Linked DNA regions of Homo sapiens: all the other regions are linked to region 3. The links are contacts of gene promoters, found by promoter capture Hi-C in blood cells and fetal thymus (Javierre and others, 2016). All regions are on one chromosome and are shown on one strand. The core of a region is centred on a gene start or on the middle of the fragment in contact, and the rest is flanking DNA. Distances in the headings are between cores, read along the strand shown.

Region 1 (2,700 bases), core at 174-2,673, 730 kb after region 3:
CACTTAAGGCTTAGGATTCCTTAGGTTCTGAAATCACAACTATACACTGTTAATATCAGGACACCACAGGATTAGCATATACAATGTGCATTGATCTGTACCCTGAATCTCAGGCTTAGGAAAGGGTTTCAGGATTTCCAAAATGAGGAAACCCCAAATATAAAAGTATGTTATTTGCTATAAATTATAGCAATGCCTTGCCTGTTGCCATTGTGTTCAAACTTCCTATCCATTATCAGGCTGAGATAAGAGCAGTGAAGTAAACTATTTCATCAGTAACACCAGTAAAAACTGGTGTCTTTCATTTTACTTTAAAAGATGAGAGTACAGACAGATAATCTCTGTCAGACTTTATTAAACTTTCTGAAAGGAATGATACGGTAAGTTGCCCAGAAAGAGCAATACTGCAGGTGTTAAATATTTTTCCACACCTTGGCCTCCAATACATAAATAGGAGATACATAACAAATAACACTAGCAATGATCATTATAAATTAGAACATCTGAAATCAGGCTAAGAAGTAAAAAGTACTGCATAAAGAAACTCTCGTTTATTTATAACTTTTTATTATAAGAAAATAAGACACTGTTCGTATAAATAAAAAGGACTTGGACACAATATTCTCTTAAGAGGGGTGGGGTTAGTTTCTGCAAGTTTTCTTCTTGAAATTAGTTGATATAAGAGGAATTACTCCAGGCATTTTGAAGTGATGTTTTTTCTAGAACTTCGTAATGTTCATCGGTGCAGCCAGTGAGAGAAGGCTGCTCTTTGTGACTGCAGAGCCATCACTTCCCAACATCATTACAAAAACAAACAGCTCGCCCTCGACTCCCCACATGACAATGGACCCGCATCTGTCAACAGACTTGCATTATGTGCCGTGTGAGAACATGACTGTGACATTTGCTCTCGTGACATGGCAAATTTCGGCGGCTTGTCTGTAAAGAGATTAGCATTCGTTACGCTGCAGCACCTTTCATCAAACTAATGACATTTCAATCAGCACATTTTCTCCAGTTTCGGTACTTTGCTATCTGAGCACAAGTCTCTAATTACGCTCAAGCAACAAGTTTCACATCAATCTCACAATTTATGCACTCACCATACACCATTGCTCCTCCAGTTTCATGCAAGAAGCGGAATCGATGATTTTTAAATAACCAGATTGTCAAAATGGTAAGGATGAGCAAAAAATTGAAGACAAGCAGCTCCACCGCTCCCTGATGTTGAAACTGATACTCATCCTTTTCTGACATAACCCTTGACTGTCTCTCCATTCCCCAGTCTTCTTGGGATTCCTTAGATAAAAACCTGGATAAAGGCTATTTTATCAAGATTTGCCTAAGACAGTCTGACTGCCTGAGAATTTCAGAAGAAACACTGCCACTTTAGTTGCTACTTCACAAGCATTCTGCCCTGGCTTAGTATTCAGATGGCTTCTAGTTACAACTTCCTGTTTCTCTCTTAAAGCAGCCCTGTCTCTTTTCAAACTCGAGAGTGTGTGGTTTCATCACTGACTCTTAATGTCTTTAAGTGATTCATCTCATGAAAATATCTTTCATACTGGACAAATCTGCAAGCAATGATGCTAAGATCTTGAATCACGGTCTTATTATTCCAAATAAGTCTTCTTAAGCTGCATAAATATGAACTGTAGATTAATAATAAAAAAGGTAGCCTTACACTAGCAACGTTTTCTAAGTTCAAAAAGCCAATTCCTGACTCAACTTCACCTAAATGCAAGATCTTTCCTCTCTAACCAAGACCTGCCAAAGTGATGGGGATTGATAGCACAGTTATCAATCAGCCTCTGTGCTCTAAATGGATCAGCATATTAGCCTCCTGAAAAGATATTACACTGCTTAGCCTGAAACTTCCGCCTCATAGCTCAAGTATCTCACAATGGGATTCACTTAAGGCATAGGGTTTCTTATAGGGTTTCTTATGCTCTCAAATCATGACTGTACATTGGTTAAGCAAACCTAAAGTGATTTCACAGGATTTTTTTTTTTTTTTTTTAGTTGAGAAGCAAGAAAGGATTTAGTATATGACTCTATTTGGCTTTATATAATTGATAGTTGCAGAGCAGCCTTTAAACTCTAAATCAATTGTTTTTCTTTTAACAAGAGAAAACAATGAAAGCAAAAGACAAATAAAATTCCATCCCCATCTCTACAACTGTACTGTTTGGATACGTTGAGACAAAAAAGAAAAAAAACAAAACACATTACTTCGAAAGAGAAACTCACGCAGCCATCCTCAGCAACGCCACATGCATGGATTTCTCTTTGTAGGGTTCCTGGTCTCGGCATCCAGGACCCACAGAAATCTGCAATAGATCACAACCTCCTCTGTCCTATGGCAAAACAATGTTGCTCACTGAGAAATGGTTCTGCCACCAGAAATGAAAGCTCTGTATTCACAGGATTCTGATCATAAGAGTGATGATTCTTCAGATCATCTTCCATGTGGCAGGTTGCTCCTGTCTGATTTCATATTTTTCTACTTTAAAATAGTTCAAGATAATACCATGGGTTCTGCAGCTTTTTTTTCCTTTTCTTTCTTTTTTCTTAGCAAATATTATGACCTGCTTGCTTTTAACACTTGATCCTATAACACATTTGGGTATATCCTGGGGTTAGCTGATTTTTTTTTTCATTTTACCATATCATTGTAATTTGGGAGTATTAATCACTTAT
Region 2 (2,700 bases), core at 51-2,550, 640 kb after region 3:
ACCCACTGGGGCCTGTCGTGGGGTTGGGGGAGGGGGAAGGGATAGCATTAGGAGATATACCTAATGTAAATGACGAGTTAATGGGTGCAGCACACCAACATGGCACATGTATACATATGTAACAAACCTGCACGTTGTGCACATGTACCCTAGAACTTAAAGTATAAAATAATAATAATAATAACCACCACCATCATACCTAATATCTAAATACATCTTTTCTTTGTAGAATGGTATTTGGGTTATTTTGATGGCCTACCAATTTCATTACAATAGAATTCAACTGGAATCCTTAACAAATAATTAAAATAGCCCCTGATGGAAGATTAACTTCTATATTCCCAAATAAATCTTTGTAATGGGTTGTTTTAGTAGTGTGGTGATCACCAAAGCAATTTCCCCAAGTGAACTATGTTATTTTGAGGGAGACAGAGGCAATAAAACTACCTAGAATTATTTTCTCAAGTTTATCTGAGCTTGCCAGAGCAATTGATACACCTGTGTATGAACACAGCACAAGGAGATTGTCTTCTCCACCCTCCTCAATTTTCAGACGAATATACTGAGGCCTGAAGAACAAGAGTCCCACAATATATGGCCAGTGTGGCACTGTCCTCTGATTCTGCTGGTCTCCCTGATGTAAATCCCTTTACATCCTACCCCTTTGAGAAGGCTGTGTGGCTGACTTTTACAGGTTTCATAACCTTAGAAGTTAAGCTTTTCATGGAAGAACTCAGATCAACTCAGACAAACAGTGGGAAGCAATCAGCGGAATGCCAGGCATTGGGAGGGGAACTTCTGGTCCAGGCTCTGCCATTCACTCAGGTGGGGCCTTTGGACTCCATTTGTGAAAAAGAGGAGGCGATGGAACTATTGGCCATAAGGTCTTCATGACATCCTGGAGAGTCCTTATATGTCTGTAGAAGAGCCAGCTAGCCCCACTGCTTAGGCTTTTGGTGGCAGCTTCTAGTGGCTCTCTTACCCAGTGTGCAGCACTGGAAATGCATATGTTCTTATGACCAAAGGAGTTCATGACCCTCTTCCTTCAGAACCCAGGTGACATGCATGAGAGTCAACCCACAATGGCATTCAAATATCTGTCAGTAATTATAGCAAGAGCCATTTAGTTCACAGCCTTAGAAATTTACATCCCTCTACTTTTTTCATCTTGACTTTATCTTATTTACTAGACTAGGAACAAAGGAATTTTGAGTTGACAGAATCCAATCATCTGAGTTAAGGTAAATGTCATTATAAACAAATCAGTTCAAATAATTGATGTGTTATTTTGTCACTGTGATTTTAAAGAAAAGCACAAGCCCCTTCCAGTTCTCTTTGATAATAAAATACCATCATGGATTTGTACACTCCTGGTTTCTGGTATCAATTCAGCCTCCTGTGATAGGTGTTACTAAAAACCTTTGAAGAACTTGTTTGTACATGCCAGATTTTCTTTAATATACCAACCAGTAAGTAATTCTACTCTGCAGTCTTTCAAAAAAAGCTAGAAAAATGAAGCAAAAAGCAAAATAAAATGTTTGATTTTTTTTTTTTTCACATTTCTTTTTGTCATAAACCATGGAATATGGCTCAGGATCTCCATCTAGTGGAATCTTTAAGGTGAGAACTCTGTTGTAAAATCTCTTAGTCCTGGAAAGTTGGGGATAGGGCCATTAAATAAGACAAATAATTTTTTTTCTACACACATGCATTTATTGAGAGTCTAATATGATAAGTGTGTGTTGCTTCTTTTTAACTAGGAGAATCCATATTTCCTGGGTTACCATTAATAGGTCAGTCTCTACTAAGGTCTCCAAACCATGAAAGACCATCACATGTCATTTTGTTTACAGGGATAACTGGGTTCTTCCTTCTTCTCTTTCCCAAGCTTATATTATAGAATTTCACTTCTTTTTTAAAAAATCCACTCTGACAGGGTAAGGAAAGGGAAAGGAAAAACCTCAGGAAAAGCCATTTTTCTTCTAGTTGTTAATTCTCATCAAGAGTCTGATGGAGAAAGTTGTTGAGGTATATAACATACAATGTGAGCTCTCTCAGTTATGTCAAAGAGTCATAATAAGTCATGCTGTCTATGTCATGCCCCCACCCATCTGCTTCTCAGGGTGAACATACCCTATTTCTGTGCAGCAGACTGGAGAAATTTCAATGATAGCGTATCACTTTCCAGATAGAACACTTCTAATTCTTTCCGTCCTTGGAATGTAATATATGCAATTCAACTTATATTCCCACAAGCAGTGCCAACTGCTGCCCTCAGAGTAACTTTTGGAAAACTATTAGATGCACAGTCACCACCTCATGTGGCCACCCCAGTGATCTAGAAAGGCTAAGAATTCCTTCCCTGAATTTTGTATCTTTTCTTCATTATGTCTGGGTTTGTTTGTTGGTTTTGAGGCAGGGTCTTGCTCTGTTGCCCAGGCTACAGTGCAGTGGTGTGATAATGGCTCATTGTAGCTTTGAACTCAAGTGATTCTCCTATTCAGCCTTCCAAATAACTGGGACTACATCATGCACTACCATACCCAACTATTTTATTTATTTATTTATTTATCTATCTATCTTTTGTAAAGATCGGGTCTCACTATGTAGACCAGACTGGTTTCTAACTCCTGGCCTCAAGAGATCCTCCCACTGTGGCCTTCCAAAATGCTGGGATTATAGGTGCGAGCCACCAGGCCT
Region 3 (2,700 bases), core at 201-2,700:
AGCTGAACTGTACTCGTGACATTATGGGTTTTTCTGGAAAACAAGGATAAATAAGTTTTTTGAACATTTTTCTCCCCTGAAACTAAATCCGTAAGAGAGTTAAAAACCCGTGGAAAGCGAGTTAAGTCACTTTTCAAGTCTTTGTACTCAGGGGATTCTGTAAGACTCATGGAAGAATAATGGCGCAAACAGCAATATTTTAATGTTAGAACGGTCCTCTGAAAAGTCTGCCCGAAACGCTACAAAGATAATTGTGCAGTAACTTCTAAAAACTCTACTGGGACAGGAGGCAACAAAACTCCGGATCAGCGAGAGCTCTGTTTATCCGAGGGTGCTGAGCCTCAGGCCCCACGGAGATTCCCTTTTCGGCACTTGGAGGCCTGAACTCAGGTCTAACCTTTCGTGTGCGCGCTCTGATACTCAACCACCGTTCAGTCTCCGGAGGCTGTTACAACTGTCCCCATTCTACAGATGAAGTTGAGGCTACAGCTTAGTGTTCTTGGGGAGGGAGGGAGTTGGGGGGAGAGAGAGACGCTTTTCCTCATAACCTTAAACAAAAGTACTTAAACCTAAAGCAACTGAAAAATGATTTTCTTTCAACAACGGTGTTTCCTTTGGGGTCAAGTTCTTTGATCTCATCTACAAAACCAAGAAGCGGGACAAGTATTTTTCTGCAAATTAGAACGGGGCGTTCCCCTCCCCCATCACCCCAATTCCAGAGGACGTCAATCACAGTGGACGCAGCACCGCGAGCGGAAATGCGGAGAGCATCGGGGCTCCGCATGTGGGGCACAATGAAACAAGAGCAGCCCCGGCCAGAGGTCCAGTAAAGCGGAAAGACGGTCCCGCCCGCACACCCCTCCGGAAAACTGAAGCGTCTCCTCTGACCCCCAAGGTCAGAAAGATTTATTACTTCCTTCGAGAGGGCGCAGCCACAGACCCACTAGAGAGGGCGGGCAGGGTGTCGGAAGCCAGAGAACGGCGCTCCGCGTCCTCCCACCGCTCCAGGGCGCAGAGGTGTCCTCAGTGCCCGGAGAGGTTGGCAGTGTCGGCCCCGAGGGAAGCGTGGAGCGGACGGCCGACAGGGGATTTCTGCCCAAACTTCATCACCAACTCTTTCTGAGAGCAAAAACATGGGGCCGAGTCCGGCAGCTGCACGCAGAATCCAACTCTCTGGCAGCTCTCGGCACCGACGAGCTCCAGATCCCGCGTTCGCATCCCGGCGCTTTGCGCGCAGAGCTAAGCCTTCGGACCCGTGGACTGCAGCCCCCGCGCGTCGCGGTAAAGCGGGTCGCGTCTCCAGCCCCCGAGGCGCAGCGACGGTGGGAGCCGGCTCGGCGTTGGGGGCGGGGGCGGGGCCGGCGAAGGGGGAGGGCTGCGCGGCGGAGGGGAGGAGCCGCGGCGACAGACGGCGGCGCGCACCAACCGGGCGCCGGCTGGCAGGAGCCGCGCAGAGGCTGGTCCGAGCGCGTTGCGGGCGCCCGGCGTAAGGGGAGTCGGGTAGCAGCATCCTCCTGGGCGCCGCTTTCGCGCGGCGGCGGCGGCTGCGGCGGGGTCTTTCTTTGCTTAAATACCTCGTTGGCCAGAAGCGCTGGTACCGGGGGCGGGTTGGGTCGGGTCGGGCAGTGCTGCACACCTGGGTTTCCTTGCCTAGAGCTGTGTGTTCGGGGTCCTTTGGTCCAGTCGGAGGCTGCGGAGCGGCGGGGGTTGCCTGCGCTGTCCGCCCGGGCATCCTCCCGGTGATGGAAGCAGCCGCCGCCGCCGCTGCGGGGTCGCGCTGTGCCCCATCCACCGCTGCCAGAGAGGTGGGAAAATTCGCCGCACGGAGGCCGAAAGCGAGAGGGGCTGCGCCGCTATGCCGGGAGCTGAGTCCCATATAAGCCGCCCCCAGCCATCGCCCCCAGCCGGCTTCGTTCCCCTGAGCGAGACAGGAAGCTGCGGTCCCGAGAAAGCGGAGGAGACGTCGCTGGAGCCGGGAGGCGCCGGGTTCGGCGGAGCGCGGAGCGGGGCTCTGGGCCGCGTGAAAGTTTTTCTTCCCGAGCCGCAGGGCGCCCGCTGCCCGGAAACTGCCCAGGGATAAGTCGGCCGACTCCCCAGACCCCTCGAAGGTGCGGGGACCCCCAGCGGAAGCGAGAGGGAGCGAAATCGAGGAACGAGTGACAGCCGGACAGTCCGCCGGGCGGTGATCCGGGGCCGCTCCCGGGCGCGCCCTCGGCTCCAGGTGAGCGGAGGAACCGGGCAGAACCGAGGGTGGGCGTTACTTAGGAGGAGGAGGCTGGGAGGGAGATTGGGGCGCATCCGCTCACTCCGCTTCCCCTCGCAGGTCCTACCCGGAGCCGCTGCCATGGGAGAGCCAGCCTTGGGCGCTGGGGACCAGCCGCCGCGCCCGCCTCGGAGTCGCGGCCCGAGTCCCGGCGCCAGCAGCCAGCCCGCTGCGTCCCCTTCCCGGGCTGCAGGGCTGCCTCCGCCGCGCCGCCGGCCCGGATTGTGCCTGTGATGAGCCGCAGCCCGCAGCGAGCTCTGCCCCCGGGCGCGCTCCCTCGGCTGCTCCAGGCTGCGCCTGCAGCCGCGCCGCGTGCCCTGCTCCCGCAGTGGCCCCGGCGCCCAGGACGCCGCTGGCCCGCGTCCCCTCTCGGAATGAAGGTGTTCCGTAGGAAGGCGCTGGTGTTGTGCGCGGGCTATGCACTGCTGCTGGTGCTC
Region 4 (2,700 bases), core at 87-2,586, 520 kb after region 3:
AGGGGAAAAATAAAGTCCCATTAAAATGAATGTAAATTCAAAAATAAGAAGTGACAGTTTCTCCAGATGAGAAGGAACCAACCAATTCTGTCACCATGAAAAAACAGTGTTGTAACACCCCTCAAGGATCACACTAGCTCTCTAGTGATGGATCTTATCCAAAATGAAAATTCTAAAATGACAGATAAAGAATTCAAAATATGGATCATAAGGGAGTTCAACGAGATCCAAGGGGAAGTTGAAAACCAATACAAAGAAATCTGAAAAACAATTCAAGATATGAATGAAAAATTTACTACAGAGATAGATATTTAAAGAAAGCACAAAACTCTGGAAATGAAAAATTTACAGATGGAATTACAAAATACAGTTGAAAGCTTTAACAATAGATTAGACAAAGCAGAAAAATTTCAAAGCTTGACTACATATCTTTTAAATTAACCCATTCAGACAAAAATAAAGCAAAAAGAATGTAAAAACTGAACAAAGGCTTTGATAAATATGGATTTTCCTATTTTGAATTTCTATGATTTATATTTCAAATTTCAGCTTATCCCTGTTTTGTAGATATAATAGCCATTTATATACACCTTAGTAAGTATATATGCTTTGGGCTTTAGTTTTCTATAATGTTGTTTCCCCTTAAAGTTGATCTTATTTGCTTTTATAATCTATAGCTTTAGCGTAACTGACATCTAAAATCTCAACAGGTTTTTATTTTTTAAAGGTGAGAATAGATATGTATACTAAAGTTGCCATCTTGATGAAATGAGAAAACCAACTTAAAGAGGTTGACTGACTTGCTCATTGGTATAAAACTAGTAAATAATAAAGTCAGAATCCAGACTGCCAACCCAACCTTTACTTCTCCATGGAGAAGTAAAACACATACTTTCCACATCTGAGGTTATGTTCTAAGATTAAAGTTTTTCCATGAAAACTTGTATTAGAATTACTAATGAAAAGAAAGCCAACTGCATACATGCATATATTTTTCTACTTTTCCTAACTTTTTCTTATAAGTTATGCTAATGAAAAGGCTAAAAGTGAACAGCTATAAGAACAATAAACAATATCTGAAAATTTAAATAGTCAACTGTTACATAAGTAAGAATTAACTCTGCCAAGAAGTTTTTCTGAGTTCCATAAAAAGCAAAGTAGGCGGGTGAGAATGGGAATGGGGGGTAAAAATGAAAAAGGATAAACCTCAAAACACATTAGGGTAAGAATTTAATTTAATGGCCCAAAATATAGCATGCTCACCTTAATGTCATTAGATCAAATTTGACCATTTAACTGCCATTCTGAAAATAAGCCATTTGGCACAGACTTTAGAATTTGACTTTCATATATCCAATTTGAATTAATTGCCTTTAGAAAAAACAGATGAAACTACATCATGATTCTGATATTGCAGGATAATGCCAGGAAGAGGGGAGTCTAAATTCTATGTGAGTTATTTCATCTAATAATTTAGTGGGCATTCACTCTAACTTTTGAAATGAGAAACTCTTGCTGTGAATCCATGAAGAACTTCTAAATGGTGAAAGAATTTCCTCCTTTTTCCTTCAATACTGCCTGCCATTCTGGCAACGGGAAAAGTGATATATTTGAGGACCCCTGGGGCAGGAAAATTGATAAGAGCTCCTGACTTCTTTCCCATAAACAACCAATATTTTAAAGCTATTAACAAGGGAGCTAGGCATTCAAAGACAGTTCATTTATCTTCCAATAGCTGGCAAGGGTGTCAGGCCCTGCAGTCAGGCACAGAAAAATGGGCCCTGAATTCACCCTCTATTGCTGAACAGCTGCTCTTTCCCAAGGTTTTAATCAGATTCCCTAAGCATCCCATGCCCCAGTAAGGCAGAGCCCACATAAAACTGGCAATAAGCCTGTCTTGTAAATTCATTACAAAGCTCAAGTAATATGAGCAGATTATATTCTCCAGGCCAAGAGAGAGCTTTTAATTTAGACCAAAATTATTATTGCATATTGATTTGGCCCCTTGTTCTCTGGAAAGTTTTTTCTTAGAAAAAATCCAGACTTGGTCACCTGAAATAAAAGACATTTTCTTGGTTGTTCAGAATGAGAAGTCAGGTTTAAGTGTATTAGAAAGAAAATATGTCTTTGGATGAAAAATTCTTAATTCAGAGCCCCAAAACTATTTATAGAGTTTTGTCTTTTTGTTTAGCTGCACCTACCCTCCACCCCCTGAAGTGAGAGCCATAGCTTCCTTTAACTCTTGACTTCTGACCCAAAAGCTTAGTATGCAGTATTTTAGATTATGTTATTAGAAGCGAGTGTGGCAACCTTTGGAAATCTTTCCTTGCATGAGGCAGAAGTCAAGATTGGTTCTTCTCATAGACAGCCTGATGCCTAGCTATCAACTACTATCTGTTAGTAGGCACTAGCATGGGCATTCATGCCTCTGGTTACAACAGAGGGAATGAGAGGGAATCACTATCAACCCCTGACCAGATATTAAAGGACATTAGAGACAAATGACACTGATGCATCATGACAAAAGTATACTGTATCAATTAGAAAAAGGATTGGGTAGTCATAAAAGAATCACAGAATCAAACACTGCTAGTCTTCTTCCCAGCTTTGTGTAGTACTGAGAGGGCCAAATTTTATCATCTTACTAAAAGTGAGCAGTTTTTAATTATCCTGAATGTTGGTATGGATTTAGGAGGTCAT
Region 5 (2,700 bases), core at 183-2,682, 560 kb after region 3:
TGTGCTAGTACCATTTGTTAAATAAACCATCATTTCCCCATTGAATTGAAAGACCACCTCTGTCAGATTATCATTTTTCAATGAAATCTGTGTCTGGATCATCTATTATTTTTTACTGGTCTTGTGCTTCCTAGGCCAATACCACACTGATTTGATTATAATGGCATTGTAGTATATTCTTACATCTGATTAGGTAGGTTACCTCATGGTTTTATTCCACTTTATAAGCTTTAAGATAATTTTATCCAGTTTCAATGTTTAAAGTGGTAAGTTTTCATTGAAATTACCTTAAATTTTTGTATGAATTGGAGGAAAGTAGAATTTTCATGAAAGCTTTCTTCTCATCACCAAGATGGTGAACTATAATAGCATCGGCTACTGCTTTCCTCCACAAAGTCAATGATGAAGAAAGTATATAGAGAAAAGTGGAATTGAAACTAATAACAACAAAAGCCATGAGAAATCCCCAGGGAGAAGGAGCACTGTTTTGGATTGATGTGTGTGGGAAAGAGGTGAGAGGGGTGGGAAAGAGGTGAGGGGGGTGGGAAGAGTGCAGCAAATCTGGCAATGGGCGGCTACACACAGCAGTAAAAAAAAGCAAATTAGGAAAACAAACAAACAAACAAACAAAAACTGTTTAAGCTCTGCCATTTGGCTTACTTGCATTTCCATGGAGTAATCATTGCTTAGCTCCTTGCCACACAAAGCATGCACAACTGGCTAAACACTGGGGCAGGTGTTCATGGGGGAAATGTCAGGATCAGTGCAAAAGGTTTTGTGAGGTAAGGAGTTGATAAGAACAGGTAGAGACTGAGCAGCCTTAGGCATTCTCTTTCCCTACAAATCCTAGGCTGATGGATTATCAATGTTGCTTCTCCCTTAGGGCCTAAACCCCAACCTGAGAAGTTGGCTAGGCAGGGTTTCTCAACCTTGGCACTATTGATATTTTAGACCAGACAATTACCTGCAGTTGGGGGCCGTCTAGTGCGTTTTCAAAGTTTAGCAGCATCCCTGCCCTCTACCCGTCCAATGCCAGTAGTGCATTCCCCCAGCTGTAACTAGCAAAAAATGTCTCCACAGTTAATGTGTTCTGAGGCTTAACATCACTACCCTGGGTTAGTGGGATGACGGCAAATGAAAATGATAACTGTAGTTTTGAGGCCCTTCTCCAATACGTATTGCCAATTCAATAGTTGATACTCCTAAAGGAACATGAGCAAAAGTGAAAAATAGCTAGACACCTGAGGGTTATGACAACTTAGAGAAAATCAACAAACAAAAAACGGAAGTATTAGAATAGATACATAAAACATTTTCAATAAGTATACTAAATACACTTAAAGAGACAGAAGAAAATTAAATAAAAGGAAATATCAGGTATGAAAAACATAGCAGAAAAAAATTATAACAGATGGAATAAATAGGATAATGGATACAACTGAAGAAATAATTTAGATAATGGGAAACCTGATTGAGGAACTCCTCCAGCAGGAAGCAAGACAGATTGAAGAGATAAAAGTACAATTTTAAAATGTTAGGAGACATGAGAGATAAAAATAGAGGTGCAACATATAGATAATACGAGTACCACTAGATTAAAATAAAAATGAAGAGAAATAAATATTTGAGAGAATAAAAAAGAAAATAACTTTGAATCTATACTTTTATGTCTAAACAAATTGCTATTGAATATGAGGGTATAATTAAAATTTTTCAGGCATACAAGGCTTTGGAAAGAATGTCACACATAAACTGACATTAAAAACATTTTTGAATGATGTATTCAAATAGAATGAAAAATTTAGAAACTGCTGGAAGGTTTATGAAAAGTAACAGGGATTATATAGTTTGCTAAAGTTTTTCATTGTTTAAAAAGTACTCCATGAAAAAAATCTAGGAGGAAGAAAAAGATAAAGTATGTCCATAATTAAATCTTCCCATTCTAGAGCATGACTTTTCATTTGTTCATATCTTGTTTTACATTTTATATCCCTTAAAATATTATACCTTTATTCTTTATTAAAATTAGTATCAAATAGTTGTAAGTTTTATAGATATTGAATTTTATTTCTAGAAACTTGCTGCTAAATTTTTTAAATGCTATTGGATTTTGTATATTTATCTTATACTCGGGCACCTCACAAAATTTCGTTTTTAATTCTAATAGTTTTTTAGAATAGAGTAACATCAACAAAAATGGCAGCTTTATTTCCTAATTTCTACTTTTATGTGATGTTTTATTTTCTTTCATTTTCTTACCGAATTTGCTAGAACTTCTATGCCAGTATCTTCTATTTTTCCCTTTACACATTCTCTGCTTTGGGACACTGACCACGTGAACTACATCAATAAGTTCCCATGCCCTCTAGCTTCTCATTGGATTTGGCCAATGAGAAGCCCCAGAAGATATCAGAGGAGGGGCAGAAAGGAAGACTTAGGTATTTATTCCCTGACATTTTCCCCCTGAAATGCTACCTTGAACTAAAAGTGTCCCTGAACAGGTTATCGCTCTCCACCAGGTGACATATTCCACAAGCTTTCTCCCACTGAATTCTAATGACCACTCTCTCCTCTTGTTGCTTTGAACCTAAGAGTGATAACTGTTTGGCTACTCCCAAGCTCCAGATGCCTGCACTATTCTTTGTAGTTCTTCTACAAATAAACTTTGCAACAAGTCCTCTATAAATAAAACCTTCTTGA

Evidence for each region. The method cuts DNA at HindIII sites, captures the fragments that hold promoters and counts their contacts. A CHiCAGO score of 5 or more calls a contact.
Region 1: a contact is called between the fragment with the promoter of SLC9A9 here and the fragment with the promoter of CHST2 in region 3, in 2 of 17 cell types (total CD8 T cells and non-activated CD4 T cells). The highest score is 6.9, in total CD8 T cells.
Region 2: a fragment that was not itself captured here is called in contact with the fragment with the promoter of CHST2 in region 3 in 1 of 17 cell types (fetal thymus); the score reaches 8.2 in fetal thymus.
Region 4: a fragment that was not itself captured here is called in contact with the fragment with the promoter of CHST2 in region 3 in 1 of 17 cell types (erythroblasts); the score reaches 5.3 in erythroblasts.
Region 5: a contact is called between a fragment that was not itself captured here and the fragment with the promoter of CHST2 in region 3, in 1 of 17 cell types (fetal thymus). The highest score is 6.0, in fetal thymus.

What each region holds. Positions count from the first base shown.
Region 1 is chr3:143,847,045-143,849,744 of GRCh38, forward strand. SLC9A9 (solute carrier family 9 member A9) reads right to left here and starts at 1,424. Exons shown (of 16, transcript NM_173653.4): 1 at 1,104-1,424. The coding sequence starts at 1,278. The HindIII fragment of the contact is 4,941 bases long and covers 1-2,700 here.
Region 2 is chr3:143,762,173-143,764,872 of GRCh38, forward strand. The region is part of intron 4 of SLC9A9 (solute carrier family 9 member A9); the gene reads right to left. Among named protein-coding and RNA genes, the nearest start is that of SLC9A9, 85 kb to the right of the region's middle. The HindIII fragment of the contact is 1,171 bases long and covers 716-1,886 here.
Region 3 is chr3:143,118,321-143,121,020 of GRCh38, forward strand. It overlaps CHST2 (carbohydrate sulfotransferase 2), which reads left to right and starts at 1,451. Exons shown (of 2, transcript NM_004267.5): 1 at 1,451-2,221; 2 at 2,324-2,700. The coding sequence starts at 2,497. RefSeq lists enhancers at 507-1,008, 684-813, 1,009-1,508, 1,794-1,843, 2,167-2,700 and silencers at 1,274-1,563, 2,054-2,103, 2,134-2,183, 2,234-2,313, 2,374-2,573 and 1 more. The HindIII fragment of the contact is 4,891 bases long and covers 1-2,700 here.
Region 4 is chr3:143,636,973-143,639,672 of GRCh38, forward strand. The region is part of intron 6 of SLC9A9 (solute carrier family 9 member A9); the gene reads right to left. The region is part of intron 1 of LOC102724120 (a long non-coding RNA gene); the gene reads left to right. Among named protein-coding and RNA genes, the nearest start is that of SLC9A9, 210 kb to the right of the region's middle. The HindIII fragment of the contact is 1,845 bases long and covers 415-2,259 here.
Region 5 is chr3:143,678,519-143,681,218 of GRCh38, forward strand. All of the region lies in intron 5 of SLC9A9 (solute carrier family 9 member A9), which reads right to left. Among named protein-coding and RNA genes, the nearest start is that of SLC9A9, 170 kb to the right of the region's middle. The HindIII fragment of the contact is 2,203 bases long and covers 332-2,534 here.